Linked DNA regions of Homo sapiens: all the other regions are linked to region 1. Evidence: promoter capture Hi-C in 16 types of primary human blood cells and fetal thymus (Javierre and others, 2016). All regions are on one chromosome and are shown on one strand. The core of a region is centred on a gene start or on the middle of the fragment in contact, and the rest is flanking DNA. Distances in the headings are between cores, read along the strand shown.

What was found. The method cuts DNA at HindIII sites, captures the fragments that hold promoters and counts their contacts. A CHiCAGO score of 5 or more calls a contact.
Region 2: a contact is called between a fragment that was not itself captured here and the fragment with the promoter of RNASE4 in region 1, in 15 of 17 cell types (naive CD8 T cells, M0 macrophages, total CD8 T cells and 12 more). The highest score is 9.7, in naive CD8 T cells.
Region 3: a fragment that was not itself captured here is called in contact with the fragment with the promoter of RNASE4 in region 1 in 17 of 17 cell types (fetal thymus, erythroblasts, naive B cells and 14 more); the score reaches 17.4 in fetal thymus.
Region 4: a fragment that was not itself captured here is called in contact with the fragment with the promoter of RNASE4 in region 1 in 15 of 17 cell types (M0 macrophages, naive B cells, megakaryocytes and 12 more); the score reaches 14.5 in M0 macrophages.
Region 5: a fragment that was not itself captured here is called in contact with the fragment with the promoter of RNASE4 in region 1 in 5 of 17 cell types (monocytes, fetal thymus, M2 macrophages and 2 more); the score reaches 8.7 in monocytes.

Annotation. Positions count from the first base shown.
Region 1 is chr14:20,681,367-20,687,562 of GRCh38, reverse strand. RNASE4 (ribonuclease A family member 4) reads right to left here and starts at 3,003. Exons shown (of 2, transcript NM_002937.5): 1 at 2,805-3,003. TRY-GTA5-5 (tRNA-Tyr (anticodon GTA) 5-5) reads right to left here and starts at 4,290; the gene lies at 4,202-4,290. TRP-TGG3-2 (tRNA-Pro (anticodon TGG) 3-2) reads right to left here and starts at 3,547; the gene lies at 3,476-3,547. TRT-TGT5-1 (tRNA-Thr (anticodon TGT) 5-1) reads right to left here and starts at 5,873; the gene lies at 5,801-5,873. It also overlaps a transcript of ANG not described here. RefSeq lists enhancers at 2,712-2,851, 3,652-3,781, 3,922-4,111, 4,312-4,621, 5,342-5,391 and 1 more and silencers at 3,082-3,201, 3,472-3,521. The HindIII fragment of the contact is 4,966 bases long and covers 2,483-6,196 here.
Region 2 is chr14:20,378,062-20,384,257 of GRCh38, reverse strand. TEP1 (telomerase associated protein 1) reads left to right here. Exons shown (of 55, transcript NM_007110.5): 24 at 26-220; 25 at 340-515; 26 at 614-770; 27 at 905-1,084; 28 at 1,543-1,635; 29 at 1,902-2,034; 30 at 2,195-2,345; 31 at 2,572-2,705; 32 at 2,857-2,945; 33 at 3,213-3,327; 34 at 3,783-4,023; 35 at 4,205-4,328; 36 at 5,153-5,277; 37 at 5,405-5,504; 2 more. Among named protein-coding and RNA genes, the nearest start is that of TEP1, 32 kb to the left of the region's middle. RefSeq lists a silencer at 4,522-4,722. The HindIII fragment of the contact is 2,872 bases long and covers 764-3,635 here.
Region 3 is chr14:20,972,145-20,978,340 of GRCh38, reverse strand. No RefSeq gene overlaps it. Among named protein-coding and RNA genes, the nearest start is that of METTL17, 15 kb to the left of the region's middle. The HindIII fragment of the contact is 5,961 bases long and covers 1,000-6,196 here.
Region 4 is chr14:20,395,356-20,401,551 of GRCh38, reverse strand. It overlaps TEP1 (telomerase associated protein 1), which reads left to right. Exons shown (of 55, transcript NM_007110.5): 8 at 1-95; 9 at 411-568; 10 at 4,822-4,931; 11 at 5,603-5,693; 12 at 5,925-6,102. Among named protein-coding and RNA genes, the nearest start is that of TEP1, 15 kb to the left of the region's middle. RefSeq lists an enhancer at 1-923. The HindIII fragment of the contact is 1,267 bases long and covers 2,693-3,959 here.
Region 5 is chr14:20,949,993-20,956,188 of GRCh38, reverse strand. RNASE2 (ribonuclease A family member 2) reads right to left here and starts at 702. Exons shown (of 2, transcript NM_002934.3): 1 at 653-702; 2 at 1-422. The coding sequence starts at 417. The HindIII fragment of the contact is 7,527 bases long and covers 1-6,196 here.

The DNA.
Region 1 (6,196 bases), core at 1,754-4,253:
CAGGCTTAGCTCAAGCAACACCACCTCTGAGTCCCGAAAAGCGGTACCCTGCCACAGCATACAACCCATATGCGCCTGCACACACACAGCCCCATGGCCTGAAGCACCAATTCAAGCACCGACTCACACAAACAGAGCAGCCTCTGATTTTAGAGTTCTGCAGTAGTGCTGAGGTGGGGCAACCAGCAGCCTCTGAATATAGTTAGGTCCCTTCTCTGCCTCTGGGCCTTCACTGGACAACCTTTGGAGGATACACAATCTGCCCACAATGCAAAAAGACAGTTTTATGTTTTTCTTTTAAACTTGGCACAAGGAAGTTTTGTTGAAATGAAAAGTAGGGTTTGGGGGAAAAATTACTATTTCATTAGAATGCATCTAAGCACTTAGTCATTTGTGTTTAAAATACAACAAGGAATTATATTCTATGATTAAGGAACATCACATCTTTGTCAGTAATTTTAATACAAATGAAGGAATCGCCAATTGCAAAAAACCTCATATATTTTTTAAATGTTCAGACAGCTTTAACTTGAAAGTCATTCCCCTTTCCTGGAGATTTTTTTCTCTCTCTCCCTCAAGCCAATAATGTCCCTGCACACAGACACGGGATGCACGGGTCCTGTTTCCAAGGACCCTAGTGTTAGAGCACTTTCCTCCTTCATACAGAGTATATATGTATCATTCTGTCTTAGGACTAATTATAAAATTAGATGATGGGAAGAATGGACTAAATAATTTCTATATTTCTTTATTATTCTAACACTTTAGGTCTATAAGCATGAACTTATTCAATAACGGAAGTAACAGGTAAAGAAGGAAAAGCACACGTGGCAAGAAGAACCACGTCTCCAGGAAGAGGCAACACTACTGATTGAAGGACAGTGGGGACAAAGTCCTGCTGACATGCCTGTATTTCCAAACAAAGACAAAAATTAAACATTTGCTTTTCAACCAACTCTGGGCTTTGTGCCCACTCACTCTTTGTTCCCATTCCCTCTTTCCCAAGTATTTCATGGCATTCTTCCGGGAATAACTGTTTACAGAGAATTACAGAGAATCTGCTTAAATACAGATTCAATAAAAACTCCTAAAGAAAGGTTTCACTGACCTTCATTGGTCCACTTTTTTATCCAGCTACTTTAATTTGAGTCACAGTGACCAATGCTTCCAACAATAACTTGACAAACCTCTTACTCTTGCCTGCTTATAACCTGATTATCTGTTTTCAACAATAGCTAAAGCCATTCCTCTTTTCCTGGAATGATTTTTTCCATCCTCTCTGCCAAACGATAGTTCATCTCCACATTACTAGAGTGCCTCATGTCCTGTTACTAACATCGTACCACTCCATGGAGTCATAGAACAAGAGTGGGAGGGGCCTCTGAGACTCTGTCCACCCCTCATATTAAAGAAGAGCCAACTGAGGAACAGAGAAAGAGACATGTATTGCCCAAGGAACTCATTGCATTCGCCGGCCTGGAAGCTTTCCAATGCACCACACAATTTTTTTTTTTTTTTTTTTTAAGACGGAGTCTTGCTCTGTCACCCAGGCTAGAGTGCAGTGACGCAATCTCTGTTCACTGTAACCTCCGCCTCCCAGGTTCAAGAGAGTCTCCTGTCTCAGCCTCCCGAGTAGCTGGGGTTACAGGTGCTCACCACCGTGCCCGGCTAATTTTTGTATTTTTAGTAGAGACGAGGTTTCACCATCTTGGCCAGGCTGGTCTCGAACTCCTGATCTTGTGATGCACCCACCTCGGCCTCCCAAAGTGCTGGGATTACAGGCATGAGCCACCGTGCCGGGCCCACACAACTTTTATATTCCATACTAGTACTTTCTAGACAATCAGAGCTAACTTTAAAGGGGCCACTGAAAGTTGCTGTTCGAAGGAAACCTACATTGACTATTACCATAAATTCAAAAATTATTTTACTCTGCTTGTCATCAGTAAAAGAATTGCTTGAATTGAAGCGTATGTAATAAACCTATCCTCTTGCAAAACTTGTTAGTGGCTCTGTGGTTAAGTAAGTCTTGAATACCTGAGGCTGCTTCTGGGAAGGTGGTCCTGTGCCACAGATAATGATGTCCCTTGGGTTTCTACTGATTACATTATGACTTGATTATAAGATTTTTACTGTCACGAGGGAGGGTCTTGGCTCATCTGAGATTTCCCTAGCCCCCTGAGTGGTGCTGAAATTGTTTTAATAAAGATGTTGCGCTTTACTCATGTGCTGCTATTAGCATTTGACGTGCTGTCTCAGAGCGAGAAAACGGAGGATCCCAACCTTCCAGTAGGAAGGCTTAGAGAAGAGGCTGTTGGCAAGTGTCTCTAAGAATTGCACAACACTGGCTGAGGGTGGGTTAAGGGTGAGGAGGCAGAGGAGAGTAAACAGAAAACACCGATCCCCAAATGTTAGTTACGCTTGCAAAAAACTAAGGCCTGCTTCAAAAAGCTGGTGATTAGCCTGAATAACTAGCAAAGCTTTCTTAGTTGTGGGCAAGTGCAGGCCTCCTAGGGCTTCCCTTAGGTTCGGCGATTCTGTGGTCCCCCTCCAAGCCTACTAATCAATAGAAGCTGGCATCTGTGCCCAGCTGCGCAAAGTAAACCTGAGTGGGAATGTAAAGTCGTTAACTCATACAAATACGGGACTTTCACGTCCCTCCCCATTCCTCCCTCTCCAGCCCCGTCCCGCAAACTCCTCCCCAAGGAGTCCCAAGCTGCCTCTACTAGGAAAGGACTCCCCGGCCTAAACGCCCCTTATGAAGCTACCAGAGAGGAGGAGGAGGAGCAGGAGTGTGAACCTACCTCGGCCTCAGAACAAGTCCGCAGAAACGGGCAGGACAATGGAAAGAAGTTTTGTTTCTCACCCGCTTCTTCCTCCCTAGTACGATGATGGGGAGCCGGTAGAAAACGCAAAGATGTTCTTTTGAATCCTGCTTTGCATCTAGGTGGGGTTGGCGTCCTTGTGTGAGTGTGTGTACACGGACGGAGATGGGGGCGTGGTGAGGTGTGGAGGGTCGGCGTGCCAGCCTCTGCGTAGTTGGGACCGCGCCCCGCTTCTCCGAGGAGGCCCCTCCCGCCTGGATCCGCCCTTGGAGCTGGCGCCGCAGCAGCACCCGCCCCAGGGGCCGCAGGGGCAGCCCAGGCAAAGAACGAGCCTGGGATCCGCGCTCCTTCCTCAGCTGGACCCCAACGGGCAGCAGCCGCGAGAGCACTGCCTCCACGGAGAGCAGATGGCGGGAAACTGGCTTCTGCTCCCAATTGCCAGGCGGCCCTTCAGAGACTACCCCTGGCTGAGCGTCCAGGAACCCATGAAACTTGGTCTTGACACTGGTCGACAGCACCATCTGCCACGTACTTATTCGCTGCTGCTTTCTTTGGCAGGACAGCCCATCGCGAGACAGTTTGTGTTTCAAATTTAACGGAGACTTTTTTTCAGTAGTTGACAAAAGGGGGTGGAAAAACAGTAGCCACGAGGGCTCGTCCGGGATTTGAACCCGGGACCTCTCGCACCCAAAGCGAGAATCATACCCCTAGACCAACGAGCCACTGTAGCTGAGTGGTGCTTCCTATCACTCTGAATTTCTCTTTTCCGCCTGCTGTTCTGAAGGTTTTTTGTTTTGTTTCTTTTCCTCTGTTGTGACATTTCCCTTAGGCCTTATTTAGTTATTCCTTCCATCTTCACCAAGTTTCAAGTGTGGCTTATTCTCTGGCTTATTCTCCTCGATCCAGATGCAGGATGGGGTGAAGGAAGGCAGCTTTTTAGACTTTAGGTCACATGCTTGTGTCTCACTGAGCCCGGGGAGCGATTTAAGCCCGCTAGGGCCTGGAGGGAACCTGGAGGGGGCTGAAATAGAGATCGAGGGCCAGAGCTGAGCTCGGTTGCAAGGCTGTAGGGTACTGAGCCCCAGGACAGACGCGCGATACGTATATATCTGCCGGCCTTTGGACTTAACGTAGAAGCCAAAATATAACACACTTCGGTAAGACAACAGTGCCTTCCCCCAACGGTGGGACGATTCGGGTCTACTATCTTTCAGAAAGGTAACCAACTTTTCAAGACGCGATTAACGCAGCCCACCTCGCGGCTAAGCTGTTTCCTTCGGACAAGGGTGAGAGACAGAAACAGATTTGATCACGTCAAGATACAGAGATTTTTTGCACAAACGAAGAGCAACCGTAAACCCCAAAACAGCAGCGTCTCCTTCGAGCCGGAATCGAACCAGCGACCTAAGGATGACCACACATTAAGTACTACAGTCCTCCGCTCTACCAGCTGAGCTATCGAAGGAAGCACGGAAACAACTCTCCTAAAAATCCCTACTCGAGACATCCTTAACCAGAGACGGGAAAGAAAGAAATCTCTTTATACCCGGAAAGTAATTACTGCAGAGTCACAAAGCCAGCTTGTAAGACAGTCCTGCGTCCGAGGTTCTGAGGACAACCTTTCTAAATCTGGATTCCCCTGCCTCACTGAGGGGCTCCCAAGCAGAGCAGGCGCCCCTGAAACTCGGGCATACCGAGGCTGCTCATCCTCTGGGCGCCCGAGGGCTGTTGGCCTCACTGGGCGCGGACCCAGGGGCCTCGCGAGCGTGGATGCGTGTGTTTGTGTGTAGGGTGGGGACCGGCACCTGGGCGTCGGAGAACTGGGGGCTGAGGCGGTGGGACGCACACAATTCTGACTGCGCAACTGTGAACGCCGGAGAGGGCGGGCCTCCAGGCTTAGGCCCGGGCTCCCTGATGTCCTCACTTCCTGCGCTTCCCTCCCAATCTCGGCTCTTCCGCTTACACGTCCACAGACACGGGAGGGAGAGGGTGTGGAATGGAGCAGTGGTCCCCAACATTTTTGGCACTAGGGACCGGTTTCGTGGAAGACAGTTTTTCCACGGACCGCGGGGGCGGGGGGAAGAGTTGGGGGATGGTTTCGGGATGAAACTGTTCCACCTCAGATCATCAGGCATCACTTAGATTCTCATAAGGAGTGCAGTTTAGATCCCTGGCATGCGCAGTTCCCAATAGGGTTCGCGCTCCTGTGAGATTCTAATGCCACCACTGATCTCACAGGAGGCGGAGCTCAGGCGGTACTGGTAGCTAGCCCGGAGTTCACCTCCTGCTGTACAGCCGGGTCCCTAACAGGCCATGGACAGGTGCGCGGCCCAAGGGTTGGGAACCCCTGAAATAGAGGACATCTGGGCAAACCCAATGTTTCTGTGTGAATTCGCTTTTGGAGATAATATTTGCAGCTCATTCAAAAGGAAGGCCACATTTCTCTGCGTTAAAATCAAATTTAGTGACCCAAGTCTCGCCCCTAAAGTCGGGCCCTTAATTTCCCAAAACCCCACTGGCACATGAAACCTTGCCTCACAACGTGCATCTCTCTTCTGGACGCCTGGCCGGAGCGGCCATTGCTGGCTCTTCCCGTTTCAGAAGTGGAACCTTGATCTCTACTCCAAATATGCCCAGACCCGGGGCTTGAGAATAGCTTAAAGGGCTATTGTCTCGCCTAGCTGTCCCCATTTCCCGCCCGGCAGTCAGCAGGGCTCTCGCCGCCAGTCCGCAAGCCAGGGCGTGGGCAGAGGCTGACGGTGATTTCCACCGCCTGTGTAATGGATTCCGCCGCATTCCAGGAGCTAAAGCAGCATTACTACTGGAACCTAAAGGAAACGTTCTGCTGAGCTAGTGTTTGGAAGCTCTGAACAGAGGAAAGAAGCTCTAATTTGCCACATTTTCTGTGACTTAGTTCAGAAAGACTAGAAGGGGAGTTTTTCAAAAAACACCTGAATCAAGAAAGTAGTTTCGCAAGGCCCCAGCGAGATTTGAACTCGCGACCCCTGGTTTACAAGACCAGTGCTCTAACCCCTGAGCTATAGGGCCTCACGCAGAAACCGCCTCTTCCTTTCACAGAAAAGGAAAAGATTTGCAGGGCTTCTGCCAGCATCTGAGCATAGAAACTAAGTAAAACCTGGATGTCCTTTCAATCCATTTCCCGACTACTAGAATTCGGTTCACAGACTCAGTGTTCTTGCTGGGGATGGTACAAAGTGAAGGCCAGTGAGAGGGACCACTACTATCCTAAGATTGGAGAAATCTGCCCAACGCGACACAGTCTAACACAGAAAGATTCTCCACTCCCTCACTTCAGACTGAAAATTAAGAAGGGAAAACCGGCAGAGGAAGGAGCTCACCACAGGTCTCAC
Region 2 (6,196 bases), core at 950-3,449, 300 kb after region 1:
TAGTCACTGACCCATTTACCCTCAGCCTGGGGCCCTGCTGGAGCAGCCAGTGTCCATCCCAGACGATGACTTGGTCCAGGCCACCTTCCAGCAGCTGCAGAAGCCACCGAGTCCTGCCCGGCCACGCCTTCTTCAGGACACAGTGCAACGGCTGATGCTGCCCCACGGAAGGCTGAGCCTGGTGACGGGGCAGTCAGGACAGGGCAAGACAGCCTTCCTGGTACAGAGTCTCAGGGGCCTGGGCAGGAGGGAGGGAAGGCTGTGTGGGCTAAGGAGGTAAGGCACAGGGAGCTCAGGCATGTAAAATGTGACCATGTTTTCTGTTCCTGTCCCATGCAGGCATCTCTTGTGTCAGCCCTGCAGGCTCCTGATGGGGCCAAGGTGGCATCATTAGTCTTCTTCCACTTTTCTGGGGCTCGTCCTGACCAGGGTCTTGCCCTCACTCTGCTCAGACGCCTCTGTACCTATCTGCGTGGCCAACTAAAAGAGCCAGGTGCCCTCCCCAGCACCTACCGGTGGGTATCCCCCAATGAGCCCAGCCTTGTTGATGCCCACGTACCACCCCTGCTTTTTTTTTCTCTCCCACTGACCCTGACTTCCTCTCCATGTACAGAAGCCTGGTGTGGGAGCTGCAGCAGAGGCTGCTGCCCAAGTCTGCTGAGTCCCTGCATCCTGGCCAGACCCAGGTCCTGATCATCGATGGGGCTGATAGGTTAGTGGACCAGAATGGGCAGCTGATTTCAGACTGGATCCCAAAGAAGCTTCCCCGGGTGAGTGTGAGAAGGAGGTGGGTGTCGGGAGGCAGGCTGGGGAGAAGGAGGGATACGGCACGGAGGAGAGAGGCCTCTCCAATGTGGTTCTCCTTTTCTTTCTACCTTCCTGCCCCTTTGCCCAAATATCACAGTGTGTACACCTGGTGCTGAGTGTGTCTAGTGATGCAGGCCTAGGGGAGACCCTTGAGCAGAGCCAGGGTGCCCACGTGCTGGCCTTGGGGCCTCTGGAGGCCTCTGCTCGGGCCCGGCTGGTGAGAGAGGAGCTGGCCCTGTACGGGAAGCGGCTGGAGGAGTCACCATTTAACAACCAGGTTGGGTTCTAGGCCGGGGCCGGTGGGTGTGTGGGGTGAATCTGGGAGCTATGAGGACCTGGGGTGCCGAGGCCGCTAGCTGCCTTGCACAGACCTGCTCCTTTGTTTTCTCAGAAATTCTGTCCATGGGAAGTTGTTAATAAGAAAATTGTGATTCCTGATCATGTCACCCAGCCCTCTTCCCCCGGTGAATGGCCTTTCCAGGGCCTCTCGGGGTGAGGGGATGAGTCAAGTGGTTTTTGGTGGGGTAGGCCGAGCCACAGGGGTTTTCTGGCAGGGCTGGCTGGGCAGAGCAGCGTAGGAGAGGGATGGTTTGTGTCCTGGGATGATGCCATGGACCTGGCGTCTGCTGGGGACTCTCAGAGGAGGAGCTGCCTGGCAGAGGGGCTGGTGCTGGGGCAGAGGGCTGGCTGCGGGCAGCCCTCCTGGACCCCACCCTGAGTCCTGAGTCTTGCCAGATGCGACTGCTGCTGGTGAAGCGGGAATCAGGCCGGCCGCTCTACCTGCGCTTGGTCACCGATCACCTGAGGCTCTTCACGCTGTATGAGCAGGTCAGTTCTCATCACCTTCCAAGTCCTAATCACTACTTCCCATTCTCTCTTCAGCTGCTTTGTCTCATCCCTATCCCACGTCCTTTGCTGTCTTGTGATCACCCACTCCCTATCCTCGCCTCATACCTCGCCTCACTTCCCTCCTACTGTTGTTCTTTACTTTTTCATTCCTCCACACTGTCCTCCTGCTGCCCCTTCCCTATCCCACAAGCCAAGCTGCTTCTCCTCCCACTGCACTGAACAAGGCTGTCCTCCCGCCATCCTAGGTGTCTGAGAGACTCCGGACCCTGCCTGCCACTGTCCCCCTGCTGCTGCAGCACATCCTGAGCACACTGGAGAAGGAGCACGGGCCTGATGTCCTTCCCCAGGCCTTGACTGCCCTAGAAGTCACACGGAGTGGTCAGTGCTTGGGGTGGGTTGGTTGGGAGGCTGAGGGCCAGGGTTCGGATTACATTGGTTCCCTTGGGGTCTCAGCAGGCAGTTCAAGGAGAGACTGGGTGTGGTGGGGGCGGGGACACCGTATGGTTAGATGAGGGCCTCAGAGAGCTTGAGTTTTCAGGTTTGACTGTGGACCAGCTGCACGGAGTGCTGAGTGTGTGGCGGACACTACCGAAGGGGACTAAGAGCTGGGAAGAAGCAGTGGCTGCTGGTAACAGTGGAGACCCCTACCCCATGGGCCCGTTTGCCTGCCTCGTCCAGAGTCTGCGCAGGTACAGGTGCCCCAGCAGAGCTCCCGCTGACCTCTCTGTGCCTTCCCTTCTTTGAGCCGGGGCCCTCTGTATAGCTTCAACAACTGGCTCCCAGACCATGAATGAGCTACTGCTCCAGCTGCTCCAGTTTCCGCTATTTGAGGGGGGAATAGGAGCCCACTGTGTGCCAGGAAGCTCACTGACAGGCCTCTTCCTTCTTCTCTCTCCCTTCCTCACACGAGGACAGTTTGCTAGGGGAGGGCCCTCTGGAGCGCCCTGGTGCCCGGCTGTGCCTCCCTGATGGGCCCCTGAGAACAGCAGCTAAACGTTGCTATGGGAAGAGGCCAGGGCTAGAGGACACGGCACACATCCTCATTGCAGGTGATTGCAGCCCAAGTCAGCCTGGGCACTGAGTGTGGGGCTTGGGCCTGGAGGCCAGGACCACCCACTGTGCTCCCATCTGCTGGCCAGCTCACCTACTGCCCTTGGGAATGATGCAGGGCTGAGCCTTTCTCAATATCTGTTCATGCAGCTCAGCTCTGGAAGACATGTGACGCTGATGCCTCAGGCACCTTCCGAAGTTGCCCTCCTGAGGCTCTGGGAGACCTGCCTTACCACCTGGTTAGTTCCTAGACCCCATAGACACCTTTCCCAAAGTGAGTGCTTTGGTTGCTCTGAGACCCCTCTCCCCGTTACCATCTCCACCATCACCGCCGCCATTACCCCTCCCAAACTCCCTTGACCTCTTTCCTTTCAGTTTTCCTGCCCTTCTTCTTCAAGTCCTTTGTCCCAGCTCAGATCCTATCTCTGTATCCAGGTTCTGAGACTAAACTGTCCCTTCTCACCAGCCCCTTCATATCCCTAATGAATTCAATCTGACCTTCTCAGCTCCAGAGCGGGAACCGTGGACTTCTTTCGAAGTTCCTTACCAACCTCCATGTGGTGGCTGCACACTTGGAATTGGGTCTGGTCTCTCGGCTCTTGGAGGCCCATGCCCTCTATGGTGAGATGAGTCACTGGCTGGGTTCTTCTCTGAGATATGGGACTCCTGGGTGTGCTTATGGGGGCCCTGCTCAGGGTTGGGGCAGGGGTGTGGGTGTCAGGGAAAAAAGATTCAAATTTCCATTTCGAGTTGAAAATGCCAAGAGGGTGAGCACGTGACTCTCAGGAGACCTTTCACCTTGATCTCTTGGACCAGAGATTCTTCAACTTTATTTAGTTAGCATAAAACTATCTAGGAAACTTGTTCAAATTGCAGATCCTTGGGTCTCCATATTCTGGTTTCCTAGGTTTGGAGTGGGGCTCAAAGCTTTGTACTTTTAAGAGATATTCCTGATATAGGGCCAGAGGGCCACACTTTGAGACTTACTATTGTAGACACACCATATGGTTTTATTTGGTGCTGGGGCTAATGGGGTCCAGCTGGCTCCCCAGTGACATTCTGCCACCCTTTTATAGCTTCTTCAGTCCCCAAAGAGGAACAAAAGCTCCCCGAGGCTGACGTTGCAGTGTTTCGCACCTTCCTGAGGCAGCAGGCTTCAATCCTCAGCCAGTACCCCCGGCTCCTGCCCCAGCAGGCAGCCAACCAGCCCCTGGACTCACCTCTTTGCCACCAAGCCTCGCTGCTCTCCCGGAGATGGCACCTCCAACACACACTACGATGGCTTAATAAACCCCGGACCATGAAAAATCAGCAAAGGTAAGACCTTGACCCCAGACCCTAGTAAGCCCACCAGAGAGCAAGCTGCAGCTCTTTCTGAAACTGAGGAATAAGGATGACCAGAAACACTGGAGAGGGATCCAGGCACAGAAGCACATAAATCAACTCCTGTTTGCATTCTCTCGTTTATTTCCTCCCTTTCTTCCTACTCTTTCTCTAGCTCCAGCCTGTCTCTGGCAGTTTCCTCATCCCCTACTGCTGTGGCCTTCTCCACCAATGGGCAAAGAGCAGCTGTGGGCACTGCCAATGGGACAGTTTACCTGTTGGACCTGAGAACTTGGCAGGTATGACAATCAAGGAGGGGCAGAATTTACCCTCTGAAAATCCATGCAGACTGCCCTGAAGCCCTAGATGAGCCAAACACACCTGTTATCACTCTGATTAATTCAGCAACTTTACTGCCTGCACATCAGCTCAAAGGGCTTGGCCAAAAAATCAATCACACAGCAAATATTTGCTGCACACCTTCCATTTAAGGCACTGTGCTAAGCGTTGCAAGAAACACAGGATTTGGGACATTGTCATTGCCCACCAAGTGGTCAGTTTTGTTGGGAGATAAGACATACGAGGTAAAAAAGGAACCAAAACATAGCCATGTAATCTAATTAAGACATGAGTGAGTTGTGCAGCTATAGGAGGACATAGGATAGAGAAGGGCAGGCACTCTTGTTTGAACAAGGAACCTGAGCAAAGACACAGGAGGGGAATGTTCCTGGTAAATTTGTAAATTGCTGGGAATTATGGCAGCACAGCGTGCTTATGGGAGGCTAATAGTACATTAGGCTGGAGAGGTGAGTCCTAGAACCACAGCCTCTTTCTATCCTCTTTACACTCATGTCATCCCCTACCCCATGTAACCCCATTTTCTCAGACCCATCAAAATTTTCTGTAACTTGGGGAATAGGTATGGGGTTTGGAGTAGGGGAGAAAATGTGGCCCCACTTGGATCACGAGGCCCCCACTTGAACGTGTGCTTGACTTGGAACATAGAGAGCCAAGGACTCATGGCCTTTGTGCCTTGGCCTTCTTTTTGGGTGGGGCCTGGAGTGGTGGGACTTGGAGGGTCAAGGGGATGGCCTGAGCTGCGCTCCCTCACCCACTGTCGCAGGAGGAGAAGTCTGTGGTGAGTGGCTGTGATGGAATCTCTGCTTGTTTGTTCCTCTCCGATGATACACTCTTTCTTACTGCCTTCGACGGGCTCCTGGAGCTCTGGGACCTGCAGCATGGTTGTCGGTAAGGGGTCCTCCCCATTTGTCTTGGAATGAGGGCCTTCCCCATTTTTTGGAAGCCCCAGGAGAAGGAAATGAGGAGGGAGCTGATGGCCAGGGTCCAGAGGACTGACTTCATCTTCCTGGGATAGGGTGCTGCAGACTAAGGCTCACCAGTACCAAATCACTGGCTGCTGCCTGAGCCCAGACTGCCGGCTGCTAGCCACCGTGTGCTTGGGAGGATGCCTAAAGGTAAGACTTGGGGTCTGCAGTGGTCAGAGTGGCCCTGAGCCATGACTCACCCTCGTGAATTTGTTCTCTCAGTGCGGCAGAGGCTGCTGACTCCCTGGCCAGAGAAGGCCTTCCCTGCTGAGGGCAGGGTAACTGGACAAGGTTGCTCCTGGAGGTCTGGGACTGAGAAGTTCAGGCATCTCTCTTCAGCATCCTGATTCCTCCTCTCTCTCCCTCAGCTGTGGGACACAGTCCGTGGGCAGCTGGCCTTCCAGCACACCTACCCCAAGTCCCTGAACTGTGTTGCCTTCCACCCAGAGGGGCAGGTAATAGCCACAGGCAGCTGGGCTGGCAGCATCAGCTTCTTCCAGGTGGATGGGCTCAAAGTCACCAAGGTAAGAAGGTCCAGTGTTGCTCTTGGGGGAAGCACAGGAGGACAGGAGTGGAGGGTGGCAGACGACAGACAGCAGCATTCTGGGTCACTTAAGATTTTGCTGAGAGCAGGTCTTCACGTTTCCATTTCTACCTCCCTGTGTAGGACCTGGGGGCACCCGGAGCCTCTATCCGTACCTTGGCCTTCAATGTGCCTGGGGGGGTTGTGGCTGTGGGCCGGCTGGACAGTATGGTGGAGCTGTGGGCCTGGCGAGAAGGGGCACGGCTGGCTGCCTTCCCTGCCCACCATGGCTTTGTTGCTGCTGCGCTTTTCCTGCATG
Region 3 (6,196 bases), core at 2,731-5,230, 290 kb before region 1:
CCGTAGTTCATGACATCTTAATGGGATCACATCACCTTTTCAAAGCTACAGACTTTTTATAATATTGTAGTAAGCACCACAAGTCAGAACTGGGGATTTCTGCATCAGGCTGCTTATTACAACATCAGAGATTTATTTAAACTGTGTTTATTGAAAGACTTCTTTCTGGATGCGCCTAGGTCTTTTCAGAGTAGCAGCAGCTGGGCCGGGGTGATAAAGGGGAAGCATCCTCTATTTGGTTATTGACAGGAAAGAATATGTTCCAGGAGGGACTTTTACTCTCCTTTGATTACCCACACTCCCTTCAAAGACAAGGAGCTTAGAATCCCTCATGGACTCTCACTGCCCTGAGTCTGGCTGCTGTGAAGATGACTTATCAGACATTCCTTTGGGACAGTAGGATCAGGATAACGGGCAGAGGGGAAAGGAGAGTCCTGGTTCTCCCTGCTTTTTCCTTCCAATCAGTTTTAGTTGTCTTTCTGTTGCCCACTAACAGGCAAATGACCTGACTCCACTCCTGCCAGATGAGGCTCTACCTCAATCTAGTGTCAATTCAACTCTCAAACAATGCTGACATGGACTCTCTCCTGGAAATAAGGCATTAATGTCTTCAACACCACCTTCTACCAAAGAACACAGATAGTCTGATTCTATCTGGGCCACAAAGCAGTCCTTTCCTCCTCATCTTAGATGCTTCTGAGGCAAGACTACAGCAAGGTATTTGAGGTTATCACTTACTGAGCAGGTCACCCCTGCCCTGAGCATAGGGCAGGTGGGATGGGTCGGTGGCTGGGCCTCATTGAGGAAGGCTGTTGCATAGGAGGCCTTGTTAGAGATGTCCTGGGGATCTCTTTGCCAGTTTTATGTAATTCAAAAGGTAATGGGAAGGAACTCACTTCGCTGTGTTACAGGAACATTTTGTGTGTGTTATGCCATTTAGGTTTTAAAAAACTCTATGAATGCTCACTTATCTCTGTATATCATATTTGCCTGTAAGCTTCCAGTCCTCTAATTAGAGAGGGCTCGAGGGCACAAATTGTCCCTATTCAGATTTGTATCCCCAGTGCCTAGAGGAAAGCCAGGCATATTGTTAAACTTGGAATATGTATGTTGTATAAATAAATACTTGAACATTGTTAGAATCCCTTAAAAGTAAACGAAGATTGGCCAGGCACAGTGGCTCAAGTAATCACAGCACTTTGGGAGGCCAAGGTGGGGCAGGGTTAGGGGTGGCTTGGGGCCAGGAGTTTGAGACCAGCTTGGGCAACATAGCCAAACCCGATCTCTTAAAAAAAAAAAAAGTGGAAGACTTAGGATATCAAATATATACTGTTCAGATGTGAGGATATGGCTAACATACAATTTGAACTATTCCTATTTCATCACATAACGACACAGTAATGGAAATGTAATTTTACACAGATTTTCATCTTACTTCTAGACCAGTTTTTTTTTAAGTGATTTTGTGGTTTTGAAATTTCTAGAGATATTTTTGGTAACTATAATAAGTGGAGAGGAGATCAGTGCTAGTATTTAATGGATAGGGAACAAGTGTGCTCAGAGTATAGCAAAGTAAAATAAAGAATTAGTACATGGCCTACACAATTTATCACTGTTTTCTTGGCTGCTGATGTAGGTAAGAAAACAGCTTAGAATTATCTGAGCTTCTACCCTAACTCCTTTTATTTTGCATGGTTTTAAAATGCAAAGAGTTTGCTGGGAATGTAACTATCATGTAATCAGGTATGACAGAGGAAAATCATACCTCTGTCTAGGCCTTTGTAAGATCTTTTATAGACTGGGGGTGGCTAGCAAGCAAAGGTCACAAAACAGATTTCATCTCCTTCCTTTTTACCAAGTCCTGCTTTGGTTGACTTGAGATAGGTTAGTCATTGGCATTTATTTATTTATTTATTTATTTATTTAGAGATGGAGTCTTATTCTGTTGCCAGGCTGGAGTGCAGTGGTGCCATCTCGGCTTACTGCAACCTCCACCTCCCAGGATCAAGTGGTTCTCCTGCCTCAGCCTCCTGAGTAGCTGGGATTAAAGGCGCACACCACCATGCCCAGTTAATTTTTGTATTTTTAGTAGAGATGGGGTTTCACCCTGTTGGCCAAGATGGTCTTGATCTCTTGAACCCGTGATCCACCTGTCTCGGCCTCCCAAAGTGGTGGGATTACAGGTGTGAGCCACCGCGCCCGGCCATTGGGCCCTGTTTATTGGGAACACTTACTAAATCTGAGACACAGAAAACCACCTTTTTTTGTTTGTTTTTGAACTGGGCAGCCTCCTGAACCAGAGTGGGCTCAGAGAGACTCTCAGAGAATCACCTCCTGTTTTGTTTTTGTTTTTTTTTGAGAAAGAGTCTCGCTCTGTCACCCAGGCTGGAGTGCAGTGGCATGATCTTGGCTCACTGCAACCTCCGCCTACCAGGTTCAAGTGATCTTCATGCCTCAGGCTCCCAGGTAGCTGGGACTACAGGCGCCCGCCACCATACCTGGCTAGTTTTTGTATTTTTAGTAAAGACGGGGTTTTACTATGTTGGCCAGGGTGGTCTCAAACTCCTGACCTCAGGTGATCCTCCTGCCTCAGCCTCCCAGGGTGCTAGGATTACAGGCACGAGCCACCATGCCCTGCTGAAAATCACATTTTAATATACTACTTTATTCAAGGAATCAGAGCAAAAAGAAAAAACAAGAATTACTTTTTTTGTTAACTCCATGAAAAATATGAGGAACTGTCCTAGTAAACAATTTTGTCATTTTCACAATGATGAGTATATAGAGCCTGCCTGTTCAGCCTCTCTTTTGAACAGAATTGGATAAATATGACCAAATCTTTGGCCTTGGGATTCATTTTTTTATACTGTCCTTGGGTCTTTTACTGTGAAAGCATTTTCCAGGTGGAATTTTTTAAGTTAAAGTTCAAGATAAAGCTGTATGTGAAAAAATGAAGCATGTACAGCTGATGGTAAGTGAGATAGCCGATGTTAGGGTATGCAGATACACATTTAAAGTGTTCGTTGTTATATATTTATTTTAATGTAAATGAATAATCAGTACATCAAATCTGTGGTTAAATGAAGAATTGTTTGAGCCCGGGAGGTTGAGGCTGCAGTGAGCTATGATCCCACTACTGCACTCCAGCCTGGGTGACAGAGCACGACCTCGTTTCAAAAAAAAAAAAAAAAAAAACATATCAGAGTCTGACTCACAGCTCTGCTATTCACCAACCTTGTGATCTCAGACTCAGCCCTTGTTTTCTCTTTTCTTTTTTTTTTCTTTTCTTTCTTTTTTTTTTGAGATGGAGTCTCGCTCTGTCACCCAGGCTGGAGTGCAATGGGGCGATCTCTGCTCACTGCAACCTCTGCCTCCTGGGTTCAAATGATTCTCCTGCCTCAGCCTCCCGAGTAGCTGGGATTACAGGCACCCACCACCACACACCCAGCTAATTTTTGTATTTTTAGTAGAGACGGGGTTTCACCAGGTTGGCCAGGCTGGTCTCAAACTCCTGACCTCAGGTGATCCACCCGCCTCGTTCTCCCAAAGTACTGGGATTACAGGCGTGAGCCACCACGCCTGGCGTTTTCTCTTTTCTACAAGGGAAACATTAAAACCCTGCATGATACGCAAACATAAGCCTGATGGTGGGTGACCTTAGATCGTGGACACAGACGAAAGCCTGTATCAGCTCTAGAAAAGTATGTAGAGTGTTACCTACTGGACCATGTTGTGAGGCTTAATCCCAATTACCTTATGTGAAATAGGTGTGCCAAAGAGGGAGTGGCTTCCTTATTTCCAACACTCCTTGCAAAACCATGAGGGATAAACATTTTGAATGATGCTGAGATATTTTAGGCAGTAAAGCACTCATCAAAGTTTCCTCTTAGGTTTAATGACTTTTAGGTCTCCTGTTTTCCTATTAGATGAGGTAGGTGAAGCTGATAGAGACAGCTAAGGATGGGAATGACTACATTACTGTTTGCTGATTGATATCCCCCAGTGTACTAACCTCAAACCTAAATAATCTCAGAGGTGTAAGATCATCTTACTGTCTTCTGTGCTAACATTTTCTCTTGCTCTATTGAAGAAGGGAAAAGAAATAGGGATTTCTGTGTTGACTGCAATGTAATAGTTAAATGTTTTTCTTGATAGTCTTAAGGTAGCAACAACAGCAATAATAACATACATACATACATGTATATATAGGACAATAATTTTATTTTAGTTAATCAGGTGATTTTTTTCTGGATTTAGGTATAGTATTTTAAGAAAAACAGATCTACATAGTAAAAAATTTCAGAAATGTAGATTGCATTTTCCGTAGACATTCCTCTACACACACACACACACACACACACACACACACACACACACACACACTCCTTATGAGGGCTTCAAAGAACTACAAGAGTCCGAGCTAGAAGGAATTTGTGAGGTCCTTTATTCCAAGCTACATTTCATAGCTGAGGACCAGAATGGTAGTCCTCATAGAAAATTAGTGCTAGAACTGGGAATTAAACATATAATTCCTTACTATTGGGATTCCCTTAGTACTATGTGGCAGTTAAAAAAATGAGGTGTGTCTGTGTGTAAGCTGTGGAGCTCTTCAGGAGAATGTGCAGACTCAGGGTAGAGCGGGGAGGCAATGGTGTTGGGTGCGTCAGAGGAAGAAGGATGTGACAGAGTGAGTTCCTCAGGTGAGTACTTGGAGGAGTGAGGAGAGATGGGGAGAATGTGAAATCCTGAGGATCTGGGGTCTGGGATCAGGGGAAGGGAGCTTCCTTTCATCTGAAGGATGTAGATGCTCTCCTCTCCATCGCTTCACTCCCTCCTCTAGAACAAATAACACAGCTCATATGTGGACCCTCTTTCTAATCATCTCCTGGACAAGATTCTCTTCTTCTAAGGCCCAGCACTTAGAAAACCTTCTCAGGCTGGGCATGTTGGTTCATGCCTATAATCCCAGCACTTTGGGAGGCCGAGGCGGGTGGATCACTTGAGGTCAGCAGTTGGAGATCAGCCTGGCCAACACGGTGAAACCCCGTCTCTACTAAAAGTACAAAAATTAGCCAGGCATGGTGGCACACACCTGTAATCCCAGATACTGGGGAGGCTGAGGCAGGAGAATCACTTGAACCTGAGAGGCAGAGGTTGCAGTGAGCTGAGATTGCGCCATTGCACTCCAACCTGGGCGACAAATCGAGACTCCATCTCGGAAAAAAAAAAATCTTCTCAATGGACTCCTCAGCTCCATCAGTAGGAGTTATGAGGGTTGTGGGGGCACTCCTTGCATTGGAAGTAACACCTCCCACCCCAACAGATTAATATTCCACTCAGCAGTATTAGGCACAGTGGATAATTCCCTCCTTTTTGATGAGGATGACCTGAGAATGGGGCTTCTTGTGACAGGAATAGGGACGAAAAGCGTTGTGAGATCAGTCCTGGTTCCTCAATGCAGGCAGTCATGTCGAGGCTGCGTGATGGTCTCTGGGATGCCCCTGTCTCCTGGCTCTTTCCTTACCATCCAGGCCTTTCATTCTTAGGCTCCTCACACGTTTTTCCTCTTGCCTCTGGTAACTTGATGTTAGAGGTCCCCAGGAGTCAGTCATAGGTCTTCTTCTCTATCTGCACACTATCCCTTGGTGATCTTATCCAGTCTCAAGGTTTTAAATGCTGTTGATTCTCTAACAACTCCCAAATACATACTTCCAGCCCAGCTCTCTTGCTTTGGACTAGTACATCGGACTGTCTATTTGACATCTTCACTTGGAGGTCTAATAGACCCTTCAGACTTAACATGTCCCACATTAGCTGGGTGTGGTGGCACACGCCTGTAACACCAGCTACTTGGGAAGCTGAGGCACAACAATCGCTTGAACCCGGGAGGTGGAGGTTGCAGTGAGCCGAGATTGCACTGCACTCCAGCCTGGGTGACAGAGCCAGACTGTCTCAAAGAGAGAAAAAAAAAAGCTACCCATTGCTTCCCCCATTCTCCTTCCTGCTTTATTTTTTCCATAGAGCTTATCACCTTAACAGTCTGTGTAATTTACATATATGTTTATTGTCTGTGAGTATACATTATGTGTCTAGGTCACTAGAATGTGACCTCCGTGAAAGCAGAGATTTTTTTTGTACGTATGTCCTGCGTTCTCTGATGACTCCCATACCTCTAACCGTACCTGGCACATAGGTA
Region 4 (6,196 bases), core at 2,077-4,576, 290 kb after region 1:
AAAAAGAATCCTCCAAGGTTCACCCTGAAGAAGCTGGTTCAGCGACTGCACATCCACAAGCCTGCCCAGCACGTTCAAGCCCTGCTGGGTTACAGGTGAGAAGCTGCACCCTGAGCATGCATTCCATCTAAGTAATTCCTTAACTTTTCAACATCCGTGGCCCCCATCCCAGTAGTTCTCAAACCCAGCAACATGACTTTAGACAGACATGCCCTGTAGACATGACTGCCTTTCCAATTGCTGCCTTTCCTTTTCTGACTCACCTGTAAACATGACTCACCTTTCCTTTTCTGAGTTATTTTTAGGCATATTTGGGCAGACATGCCCTGTAAACATGACTCACCTTTCCTTTTCTGAGTTATTTTCTTGCTGACTCTGAAATGATAGACCTCTTTCTTACCTATCCTCAGATACCCCTCCAACCTACAGCTCTTTTCTCGAAGTCGCCTTCCTGGGCCTTGGGATTCTAGCAGAGCTGGGAAGAGGATGAAGCTGTCTAGGCCAGAGACCTGGGAGCGGGAGCTGAGCCTACGGGGGAACAAAGCGTCGGTCTGGGAGGAACTCATTGGTAGAGTGACCTTGACCATCACATTCCCTCCTTCTCTTCCCCATTTATGCCTCCACATTTTAGATCCTCACTAGAAGATTTCTGTGGAATGATGAAGTTATTACTTTGCCTGGTTGTTGTATTTGATTTATAAGGTCTGCCATTGACTACACCAAAGTAAACAGTGGTACCTGCTTTGAGTAATGTTGGCATCATAGATCATTATACCAGATGTAGTTAGGTGATGTACAAGTTTTTATCAACATATGACAAAAGTACCTTCTCTCTCATTGTACTCATATCGATATCTCTGTAACTCATTCCAAAAAAGGTAGGACTGGCACATGGCATATTGGAATCTGTACAGAACCTCATATTGTATTTAGGACATGGAAGTTTTAGGTAATTTGCCCACATTGATACAGAAAAAAAAAAAGTCAAATAGAGGAGGATCAAGTTATCTTCAGTTTTCTCTTTCTCTGTTTTTTTTTTTTTTTTTTTTTTTTTGGTCTACTTTTACCTATAGCAGGCTCTTTCTTTCGTTTTTTACTTTATAAAATTATTACTTTTCTTTTTAAATTTTAGAGACAAGGTCTTTGTAATGTTGCCCAGGCTGGTCTCAAACTCATGGCCTCAAGCATTTCTCCTACCTTGGCCTCCCAAAGTGCTGGAATTATAGGCATGAGCCACTGCACACACACACACACGCACCCACACACAAACACACATACACACACACACCTGCCCCCAGTTGACAGCCTCTTCTTCCCTGATGGTTGAAACCACTTGGGGTGGAGTAGAATAAAGGGGCCTGGATAGAAGCCGGTATATGTAGATAATTCTTTTTTTTTTTTTTTTTTTTTTTTTGAGACGGAGTTTTGCTCTTTTTGCCCAGGCCGGAATGCAATGGCGCAATCTTGGCTCACTGCAACTTCTGCCTCCTGCCTCAGTCTCCCGAGTAGCTGGGATTACAGGCGCATGCCACCATGCCCAGCTAATTTTGTATTTTTAGTAGAGACGGCGTTTCACCATATTGGCTGGTCTTGAACTCCTGACCTCCAGTAATCCACTCGCCTCGGCCTCCCAAAGTGCTGGGATTATAGGTGTGAGCCACCACGCCCAGCCATATGAAGATAATTCTATATGCACCCATCTCCACTTCCTCCCTCTGGTTGAGAACCACTGTCCCTGAAAATGTAAGGACATGTAAATTTATTCTTTTAATGTCATTTATCCTGGTTGAGGCAAATGCCCATAGTCTAATCCCGTGGTGGCTAGTGTTTCTTTTTTTTAATCATATACTACAAAAACAATTTTTAGGATACACCAGAATATATGTATATGTACTTTTTTTTTTTTTTTTTTTTTTTTTAAGAAACAGGGCCTCACTTTGTTGCCAAGGCTGGTCTCCAATTGCTGGGATTACAGATGTAAGCCACTGTGCCCAGCCAAAAATAAATATAAATAAATAAAAGGAAATATAAAAAAAGATATAAGTATAAAATATAAGATAAAATGTAATTGGATATACAGAACCCTTTTTGAAGACCACAGATCTCATTAATAACTCATTAACATTTTTTTGGAATGAAATTAGTGAATTTTGCAATCTTAAGGATAAATGTCCAGTTTATTTTCTAATATCACCAGTATGATATTGGACTTAATTTCTTACCGAAAATGATCTAGAAAACCTTTTATACATAGTAACAGTGGAAAAAACTTGAGTCGACAATGGATGCAATAGTTCATTTATAGTACATATACAACCTAATTGTTCCATACAGTTTGTGAATCAGAATTATGACTGGAGGCCAGGCACCATGGCTCACGCCTGTAATCCCAGCACTTTGGGAGGCTGGGGCGGGCAAATCACTTGAGCTCAGGAGTTTGAGACCAGCCTGAGCAACATGGTGAAACCCCGTCTCTAACCAAAAATAGAAAAATTAGCTGGGCATGGTGGTTGATGTCTGTGGTCCCAGCTGCTTGGGAGGTTGAGGCAGGAGGATTGCTTGAGCCTGGAAAGTGGAGGTTGCAGCGAGCCAAGATTGTGCCACTGAGTGACAGAGACAGACTCCATCTCAAAAATAAAAAAAAAAAGAATGATGACTGGAGAATCCCAAGACTTCCAGAGGGCTGAAAGCTTCCAGCTATAATTCAAATAAGACTTACATCCCCTTTACAAAGGGAGCAGCATTTACCTGATGAAGCTGCTGATGGTGTGGGCTGGTGCACAAGGCATGGTGACGGACTGACCGGCCTGGCCTCTAAAGTGGTTTGAATGCACCTCTGTCCAGGAAAAGAAAATCACACCTCCTATTTATGTTTACTTTTATCTAAAAGAAAAGAATTTTCCCAGTACTTACCATGCAGATTGAACCCACATAGTCACTGAATCCATATGATACAGTGTTATGTGTTACGTGTAATAGTTGAGGTTTTCTGAGCATCCACAATCTGAGGGCATTAATGTCACCCCTTCACTCTTTTTTTTTTTTAATTTTGGTTTCTATATAATTTGACTTATAGCAATTTATCTTTCAATTGTAGATGGATTTGGAATTATATTATTCAGTATTAACCAAATTAACTGTCTAAAATTGATATAAACCTTTTTTTTTTTTTTTTGGGCGGAGTCTCACTTTGATGCCCAGGCTGGAGTGCAATGGCGCGACCTCGGCTCACTTCAACCTCCGCCTCCCAGGTTCAAGTGATTCTCCTGCTTCAGCCTCCTGATTAGCTGAGATTACAGGCGACCACCACCACGCCCGGCTAATTTTTGTATTTTTAGTAGAGATGGGGTTTCACCGTGTTAGCGAGGATGGTCTTGATCTCCTGACCTCATGATCCGCCTGAGTCGGCCTTCCAAAGTGCTGGGATTACAGGCGTGAGCCACTGCACCCGGCCTAAAATTGATATAAACCTTAAAAATATTATTATTAAGAAACTATGGGCTGGGCATGGTGGCTCACGCCTGTAATCCCAGCAATTTGGGAGGCCGAGGCAGGCAGATCACTGTAGATCGGGAGTTTGAGACCAGCCTGGCCAACATGGTGAAACCCCGTCTCTACTAAAAATACAAAAATTAGCCAGGCATGGTGGTGAGCACTTGTAATCCCAGCTACTCGGAGGCTGAGGCAGGAGAATTGCTTGAATCCAGGAATCAGAGGTTGCAGTGAGCTGAGATTGCACCACCACACTCTAGCCTGGGTGACAGAGTGAGACTCCGTCTCAAAAAAAAAAGAAAAGAAACTATGGCTTGAAGATAATATTAATAACACAGGTACAAGGGAACAATAAGGAAGTGACAGAGGTCAGTGGTGAAATTCTATCTCCAGTGCAAATCTTTTTCACCTATATTTAAGCAAAAAAAGTAATGACTAATCAAATAGAAGAAATTGGGTGAGAAGCTTACAAATTATGAAGACTATTTCAAATATGGATTTACATACATTCGTCATTATAAATGGTGAACTTTTTTTTAATTTTTTTTTTGGAGACAGAGTCTTGCTTTGTCACCCAGGCTGCAGTGCAGTGGCGTGATCTCGGTTCACTGCAACCTTCGCATTTTGGTTTCAAGCGATTCTCCTGACTCAGCCTTTCGAGTGGCTGGGATTAGAGGCACCAGACACCACGCCTGGCTAATTTTTGTATTTTTGTAGAGACGGGGTTTCATAAATGGTGAACCTTCTTTTAAATGGATATTGTGCCTTGAAATATTAACTAATGAATGTGCTACATTATGTTAGTATATACTTCATAAATCAACTTACACTACGAAATTTCTCTTTTGGCCATCTAAAAAGTTTAGAAACCTTTGCTCTAGACTAGATAATACATTTTGCCAGTTGAACCCAATCTTAGGGCTAGAGCCAACAGATTAAGTGGTAACATAACAGCCATCCCATAAACAGTGTTGCATAAATTTTGTTCCAAACTTTGGGCCAACCCTGTTTTTAATCTTTCCAAGCCTTTAAAACATTTTGAGTAGGGTAGATTGTATGTGAATTCCTCACTTCCTCTATCTTGGACTTTCCACATGCCTGGTTTCTGAACTTCTTGCTCTGGTCTCTGACCTCTCTCTAATCATCCCTCATTTGCTTTTTTTTTTTGAGACAGTCTTGCTATGTTGCCCAGGCTGGACTCTAATTCCTGGGTTCTGGGCTCAAGTGATCCTTCTGTCTCAGCCTCCTTGGTAGCTGAGATTATAGGTGCATGCCACTGTGCCTGGCCTTCTCATTTGTTTTTCTCACTCTATGCCCCACATTCCACAGAAAATGGGAAGCTTCCCTTCATGGCCATGCTTCGGAACCTGTGCAACCTGCTGCGGGTTGGAATCAGTTCCCGCCACCATGAGCTCATTCTCCAGAGACTCCAGCATGCGGTATGTGTGAGGGGCTGGTAGCCATGGGGCCCAGCAACTAGATGTGCACGTGGAGAGGCCACTGCTGCTTTAGAGGCCAGGCTTTTTCAGGGGGCAGAGGCAGGTACGGCCCTCAAGCTGTTTCCATGTGGGCTGTAAGTAGATCTGGGAATACAGCTAGGTTGAGGGAGATAAGTTTTGGGGTTCAGTAAATCCTTTGAGAAGTTACAGTAGAGTATAAGAACTTTCATTTTAATTTTCTGAGCTCAGTGACTTACCAGGAAGAGACACTTGTGTGATGTAACTGATTTCAGAAGGAGTCTTTGTTTTTTATTTATAGAGATGGGGTTTTGCGATGTTGGCAAGGCTGGTCTCAAACTCTTGAGCCCAGGCAGTCCACCTGCCTAAGGCTCCCAAAGTGCTGGGATTACAGGCGTGAGCTACCACACCCTGCCCAGAGGGAGTCTTAAAAGAAACGGGGCTCCTTCTGTTACTTTCTCTTCTTTTGTTACCTTTTCTCACATCCTAAAATGATGACTTTTTTCTTTCTTCTTATTACCCCTTTTCTATATCTCTTGTCTAAGTTCATTTTGTCCTTCTGTACCTTCCCACAAAGCTAATAGAGTGGACCCCTGAAGCCCCCCATACTCCCGGCTCCTGTGCTCATGACCCCTCCCTCCTTTGCTTTCTAGAAGTCGGTGATCCACAGTCGGCAGTTTCCATTCAGATTTCTTAACGCCCATGATGCCATTGATGCCCTCGAGGCTCAACTCAGAAATCAAGGTATTCTCCCCTTTCTTCCAACTCCTCTTTGCCTCCCACATCTGACAATAAATGAAGCAGCAGCACCAATATTTTTAGCCTCTTGCTTTGCAGTCTCAGGGTGTATCGGGGTGGGGGGCAGAGGTCAGGCACTTGCCAGCCCCAAGGGTTGGGGCTCAGGTCACATTACTGGTAGGAAAAGATGAGGGAATAGAAGCTGCCTAACTCGGAAATTTACCTGTCATCATACAGCATTGCCCTTTCCTTCGAATATAACACTGATGAGGCGGATACTAACTAGAAATGAAAAGAACCGTCCCAGGCGGAGGTTTCTTTGCCACCTAAGCCGTCAGCAGCTTCGGATGGCAATGAGGATACCTGTGTTGTATGAGCAGCTCAAGAGGGAGAAGCTGAGAGTACACAAGGCCAGGTATGTATGCACTGTCTGGGAGCCAAGGGTGGGCAATCGGGGCTACCCTGGCACAGGTTGGAAGTCATCTGGGAATCCCAACTGTTTTTCTGTA
Region 5 (6,196 bases), core at 2,037-4,536, 270 kb before region 1:
GTCACATGCAACTATATAGAACATGTTTGCTGGTGTCTGCGCATACCTGCAGTTTGAAATATTCTGTGGACTTGGAGTTGTGAGGTTACAGTGGATTAAAGGCACCTGGCTTCCACTGTGGTGACAATTTTTGCGAGTTTTGTTACTAGGACAGGTCATATTTGGGTTACCACAAACATTAACTACGTTAGCAAAAGTTGTAAGAAGGAAAGTATTTTGGTTTTTGCATCGCCGTTGATAATTGTTAATGACCTGCATTGCATTGGTGCATTGCTGGGAGGTCATATTGATGTGCTGGGTTTCAAACCATTGAGCCCAGGTAAACTGTGGAGGTTTGACATGGAGTGAGCCCTCCACAGCCAGAAGCCCCAACAGAAGAAGCAGACAAATTTGGGAAGTGAACAGTTTTGGAACCATGTTTCCTGTAAGAAAAGAAGAGAAGTAACTACTCCCTGATCGGGTCTTGGTTATGACACACACTGTAGTGTCTTACCCCACAGGCCCCTCTGCGGCCACTCTGGGGTCCCATTTCCTTTACTTCCTGTCTGCAAAGTGTGCAACGTCTCCTAAGCACTAACGTCAGCTCTCTTCTCCCTCAGTTGCTGCCCCATTGCTGCCCCTTCTGTCCCAGCTCTGGGGATCGTTGACTTACCCAGTCTCCGCGCTGTAGCTCCTGTGAGAACTGATCCAGCTGGTTGTTCTGGGGTTCAGGGGCAGCTGGTCTCCCCTACTTGGAACTGTTTAAATAAAGCATCCCTTGGTGGGTTGGGCCAGCAGAGCCCAGAGGGAGGGTCTGGCTCTTGGCCATGCAGAAACCCACAGATTGGTACATAGTCCACTTGTGCAATCATCCTTTTTATTTGATGACTTGGCTGAGCAACGGATACCCAAGGACAGCCCTGCTGCTCTTTCTGCTATAAGGACTCTAATTCCAAGTCATCCTGTGTAAGACAGAGTTTTGCTGGTTAGATCCAAACTCTGGATGAAAACTATATGCTGCCTGCAGAATGACCACAGATTTTATAACTGTCCTCTGGCAGGCCACTAAATGACCAAAGTACATGAAGGCAGGCATAGTAGTTAGAACAAATAGAGCCACTGAGGGCTGTTTGCCCAGGAGAAACCCAGCTTCCCTTTCATTTTTAGTAATATCCTTGGTTCTCTCTCACACAAATGCTCTCCATCTCATCCACCACTCTTGCTGGAAACTTGAGCTATTAATTTCTTAGGGCACAAGATTCTGTAGATAATTAAAACAATCTGCTACACATACTTGAGGGATTTTTTTCTTTACTCCTCTTGCATTGGATCCACTTTCTCTTAAGTCTTGCCCTGATTATTGCTTCCACTTTGTGTAAAGTTACACAACCTAAAAACACACCGAGGACAGTTGTAAAGTCTGGCAGAGAATGAATGAACATTTGGTGTCATGAAAGATTCCAACCTAGCACTCGGTATTCCTGTGATCTTTTCAGCCTATGGTATTTTCTACAAAACACTGTGTTCTGGGGTTGTCATTCATCTTCCTGGTAAGTTTCATTTTGTGATATTAACAAGAAAATGGTTCTGTATTTACAAATGAACATTTAAGGACAGAGCACTGTATTCCTGAAAGTATAGAGGTCAAGTGTACAGTTTGATACACAAAGCATACATTTATTCTTGGCCCTCAGAGACATACAGGAAAGTAATTGTAGACACATAATTGTATTACACTTGTGTGAACATGGTTTCATGGGGACGCCGAGGGTGAAGGAAATCACTTGGCTTGAGGGACAAGGAAGACTTCAAAAAAAAAAGTTTGATTTCAGCAGGGCCCTAAAAGATAAGCAGGGAGTTTTCAGGGACTTTAGGGAAGAGATGAGCATTCTGGGCACAGGGGATGATGTGGGGAAATTGTACAGAGGTGGGAAGTGAATTGCAGTGGTAAGACCTGAGTACTAAGAGATGTTAAATCTGGTCTAGCTTTCAGATTAGAAAATTGATATTAGACCCTTAAATGATATAATATACCTTCCAACAGTTAATCTACATAATTTTTACTACCATCCAATTTTCCTGTCATTTAGAAATGCAATAATTTTATCACTGGGGTCCTTAGGTAAATGTGGACACAATGGTGACCCAGTGAGGACTCAATGCGCAGCTAATATTGCTCTGCCTTGAAGTCCTCTTCTGGCCGACATTCATTAGCAGCTTTATCATGAAGCAAATTCTTTTTTCATGTATATTGTGTGGAGATCATTTTTGCAGGTGATGAGAATGTAAAGGTGAATGATACGTAGAGTATCCGCTCTGTGATGCTGACAGACACACTGGGTAGAAAGACTTGCACTCAAGTGTCTATAGTATGAGGCAAAAGACATAGACTGCAGCCCCAGGGCAGGTACCTGGCTAAACAGTGCCTCTTTTCAGCATATACAGTGCTATTTATAATGTTTGGTTTGGAAGGTAAAGTTTGACATTGGAATAGTTCACTAAAAGTTTTCATTACTGTCTTATCTTTAAAAATCACATGATGTTGGTTGGTGCACTGTGTCTCCGTTGCTGTGTGGTATCAATTAGAGCTGGGTAAAGCTGCCTCTGTGGAAGGGGCTCTAGCTCGGGGCTGTTCTCTGACTCCATCTCTGCCTCCTGACTTTCATCCTGTCTGTTCAGTAATGACACCTGCCTGGCTTCTGGAGACATCTGTGCTTATGACGCATCAGACTTGTTGCAGTGTCTTAAGAAATAACTCAGACCATACATAACCTGCCCAATTTGCAACCATATTCATCCTTTAAAATTGTGGTTTTTTTTTTTTTTTTGAGATGGAGTCTTGCTGTTGTTGCCCAGGCTGGAGTGCAGTGGCGCGATCTTGGGTCATTGCAACCTCTGCCTCCCGAGTTCTCCTGCCTCAGCATCTCGATTAGCTGGGATTACAGGCACCCTTCACAATGCCCGGCTAAATTTTGTACTTTTGGTAGAGACAGGGTTTCACCATGTTGGCCAGGCTGGTCTCAAACTCCTGACCTCAAGTGATCCGCCCCCCTGGACTTCCCAAAGTGCTGGGATTATAGGCATGAGCCACCACTCCTGATCACTAAAATTGTATTGAGAACATGCTCATAAGATTTTTCTGATTCTCCCTTGTGTAGATTTCCTGTGTACATTTCCAACTACTTTCATTTGCCTGCAGAACTTTAGAAAAGATCTACTTTGATATTTACGAGCTTTGGGAGAAGACTGTTTTATATGAAGCAGGAATAATAAAGTATAAGCCAACGGTAAACAAAATTCTCTGTGACTTCAGCATGATTTTGTCTTGAACAGACACAAGCCACTTCTCCCGGGTTCTTTATTAGCATAACTTGTCTTGCAGCCTAATTTAACGACACATTTTCAGACCCAATGCACACTTCCACTCAGAGGAATAGTCAGAATTATGCCCCAGTATTAAGTCATTTTTTGGAAACCGATGAACATTGTAAAATATTGTCCCAGACAAAGACTTCTCCATTTATGGTAAAAACCACTGTTGAGTACACTGCATTGATCAATGACTTTTTGCATAGCATTTATGTGCAAAAATATAATGTTTAACACTTGCAATTTCTTCAGCCCCAGGGTACCCTTGCAATATTTGCTCTTAACCTGCTGACAGGGAGGTACCAAACCATAGATACCTTCCTGCACACAGATTTCCCTAATGCAGCAGTGGCTATCTATGGGAAAGACAATGCACACTATTTATTAGGTTGGTGCCAAAGTAATTGCAATTTTTGCCATTAAAAGTAATACAAGATTGTCATAATAATATGGTGCAGGTTAAATTGCACCAAATTGAGTAATATTTTACTTACCTAATTTCTAAAGATATTTGGTGTACTGAGCTCTTCCTGGTCTCTTAAACCTCAGAAAGGTGGCCCTAGGCCTTCCCTCTTATGTGGGGCCTCCTGCATGTCTCCTCTGAAAGCCATTGAATAAGTAGATCTGACCCCTTCGATTAAGTTTCTGGCATGAAAGAGGAAAGAAGTAAGCCTTCTCCTTTTTCCTCAACTATAACAAGTCCTTTACTTCTCTGGAAAGGGAAGAAATGGGAATAGAGCCCCGATGGAATTATGGAGAGGTGTGTCTTAGGAGGGATGAAATAAAGTGTGTTTCCTAAGAAACTGGAAAATTGCATTCGTGTCCCATTGCATATTTTTAAAATCTTTCTTTCTTTCTTTTTCTTTTTCTTTCTTTCTTTCTTTCTTTCTTTCTTTCTTTCTTTCTTTCTTTCTTTCTTCCTTCCTTCCTTCCTTCCTTCCTTCCTTCCTTCCTTTCTTTCTTTCTTTCTTTCTTTCTTTCTTTCTTTCATTCTTTCCTTCTTTCTTTCTTTCTCTTTCAGATGGAGTCTCACTCTGTCACCCACGCTGTAGTGCAGTGGCAAGATCTCAGCTCACTGCAACCTCTGCCTACCGGGTTCAAATGATTCTCCTTTCTCAGCCTCCCGAGTAGCTGGGATTACAGGCGTGCACCACCACGTCCAGCTAATTTTTCTATGTTTGTAGAGATAGGGTTTCACCACGTTGGCCAAGCTGGTCTTGAACTCCTGACCTCAGGTGATTCGCACACCTCAGCCTCCCAAAGTGCTAGGATTACAGGCGTGAGCCACGGCGCCTGGCCTTATTTCTTTTTATTGATACATAATAGAGGTACATACTTTCAGGGTACATGTGATAATTTAATATATTCACATAATGTGTAAAGATCACATCGGGGAAACTGGGATATCGAGTACCTTAAATATTTGCCTCTTCTTTATGTTAGAAACATTCAAATTATTCTCTTCTAGCTATTTTGAAGCATACAGTAGATTATCATTAACTATAGTCATCCTCCTGATCTATCAAACACTAGGCCTTATTTCTTATATCATTTCTTATATTTGTACCCCTTAAACATCCTCTGTTCATCCCCATTGCATTTTGAGCACACAGATGCATTTGCTAAGATTTCAGAGCTCACACAAAATGAATTATTATATAGGTTAGTGTCTCTTTAAATGAAGTTGTTATATAAGTTTTGTGTTACAGCGATGTCGGGTATAGATTTTGTATAGTCTTGTCCAGATACCAGCTCTGACATTTTCTATTTGAGGCTCTTACTATAAGAGTTGTACAGGGCCAGGTGCTGTGACTCATGCCTGTAATCCCAGCACTTTCGGAGGCCAAGGTAGAGGGGTCACTTCAGGCGAGGAGTTTGAGACCTGCCTGGCCAACATGGAGAAATCCTGCCTCTACCAAAACCACAAAAATTAGGTCGGGCGCGGTGGCTCATGCCTGTAATCTCAGCACTTTGGGAGGCTGAGGTGGGCGGATCATGAGGTCAGGAGATCGAGACCATCCTGGCTAACATGTTGAAACCCTGTCTCTACTAAAAATACAAAAAATTAGCCAGGCGTGGTGGCACGGGCCTATAGTCCCAGCTACTCGGGTGGCTGAGGCAGGAGAATCGCTTGAACTCAGGAGGCAGAGGTTGCAGTGAGCCGAGATCACCTGCACTCCAGCCTGGGTGACAGAGTGAGACTCCATCTCAAAACAAACAAACAAACAAACAAACAAAACACACACACACACAGACACACACACAAATTAACCAGGCATGGTGGAGTGCACCTGTAATCCCAACTACTCAGGAGGCTGAGGTAGGAGGATCACTTGAACCTGGGAGTCAGAGTCTGCAGTTAGCCGATACTGCGCCACTGCCCTCCAGCCTGGGAGACAGAGTAAGATCCTGTCTCTTTAAAAAGAAACAACAACAACAACAAAAGAGTTGGACGGTTATTCATCCTTGCTATGCCTCTGTTTTATAACCTGTAAAATACAACAACACATACATTGGTTTGTAGGGGAAGTTTAATGTGGTAATTTGTGTGTGTGTGTATGTATGAAATAATTAAATATGTAGCATAAAACATTGCAAAAGGAAAAAAAAGTCTTGATGAGGACGATCAGTCTTATACATCAAGGTGTTAGCGTAGTTTCCATTACTGCGCTATCTTCTCTGTGGTATTTACGATGAGACAGTATGCTTGTTTCCTTTCCTTATTTCCCATAGTGAAGGCATTAGAACTAGAGCTCAGGTTTTTGTCTCCTTTTGATCAAGTGCTGCTTAGGTGGACAGCAAGTCATTTTGACAGGGCCGCTGTTTCTCAGGGACCCTTCCCAATCTG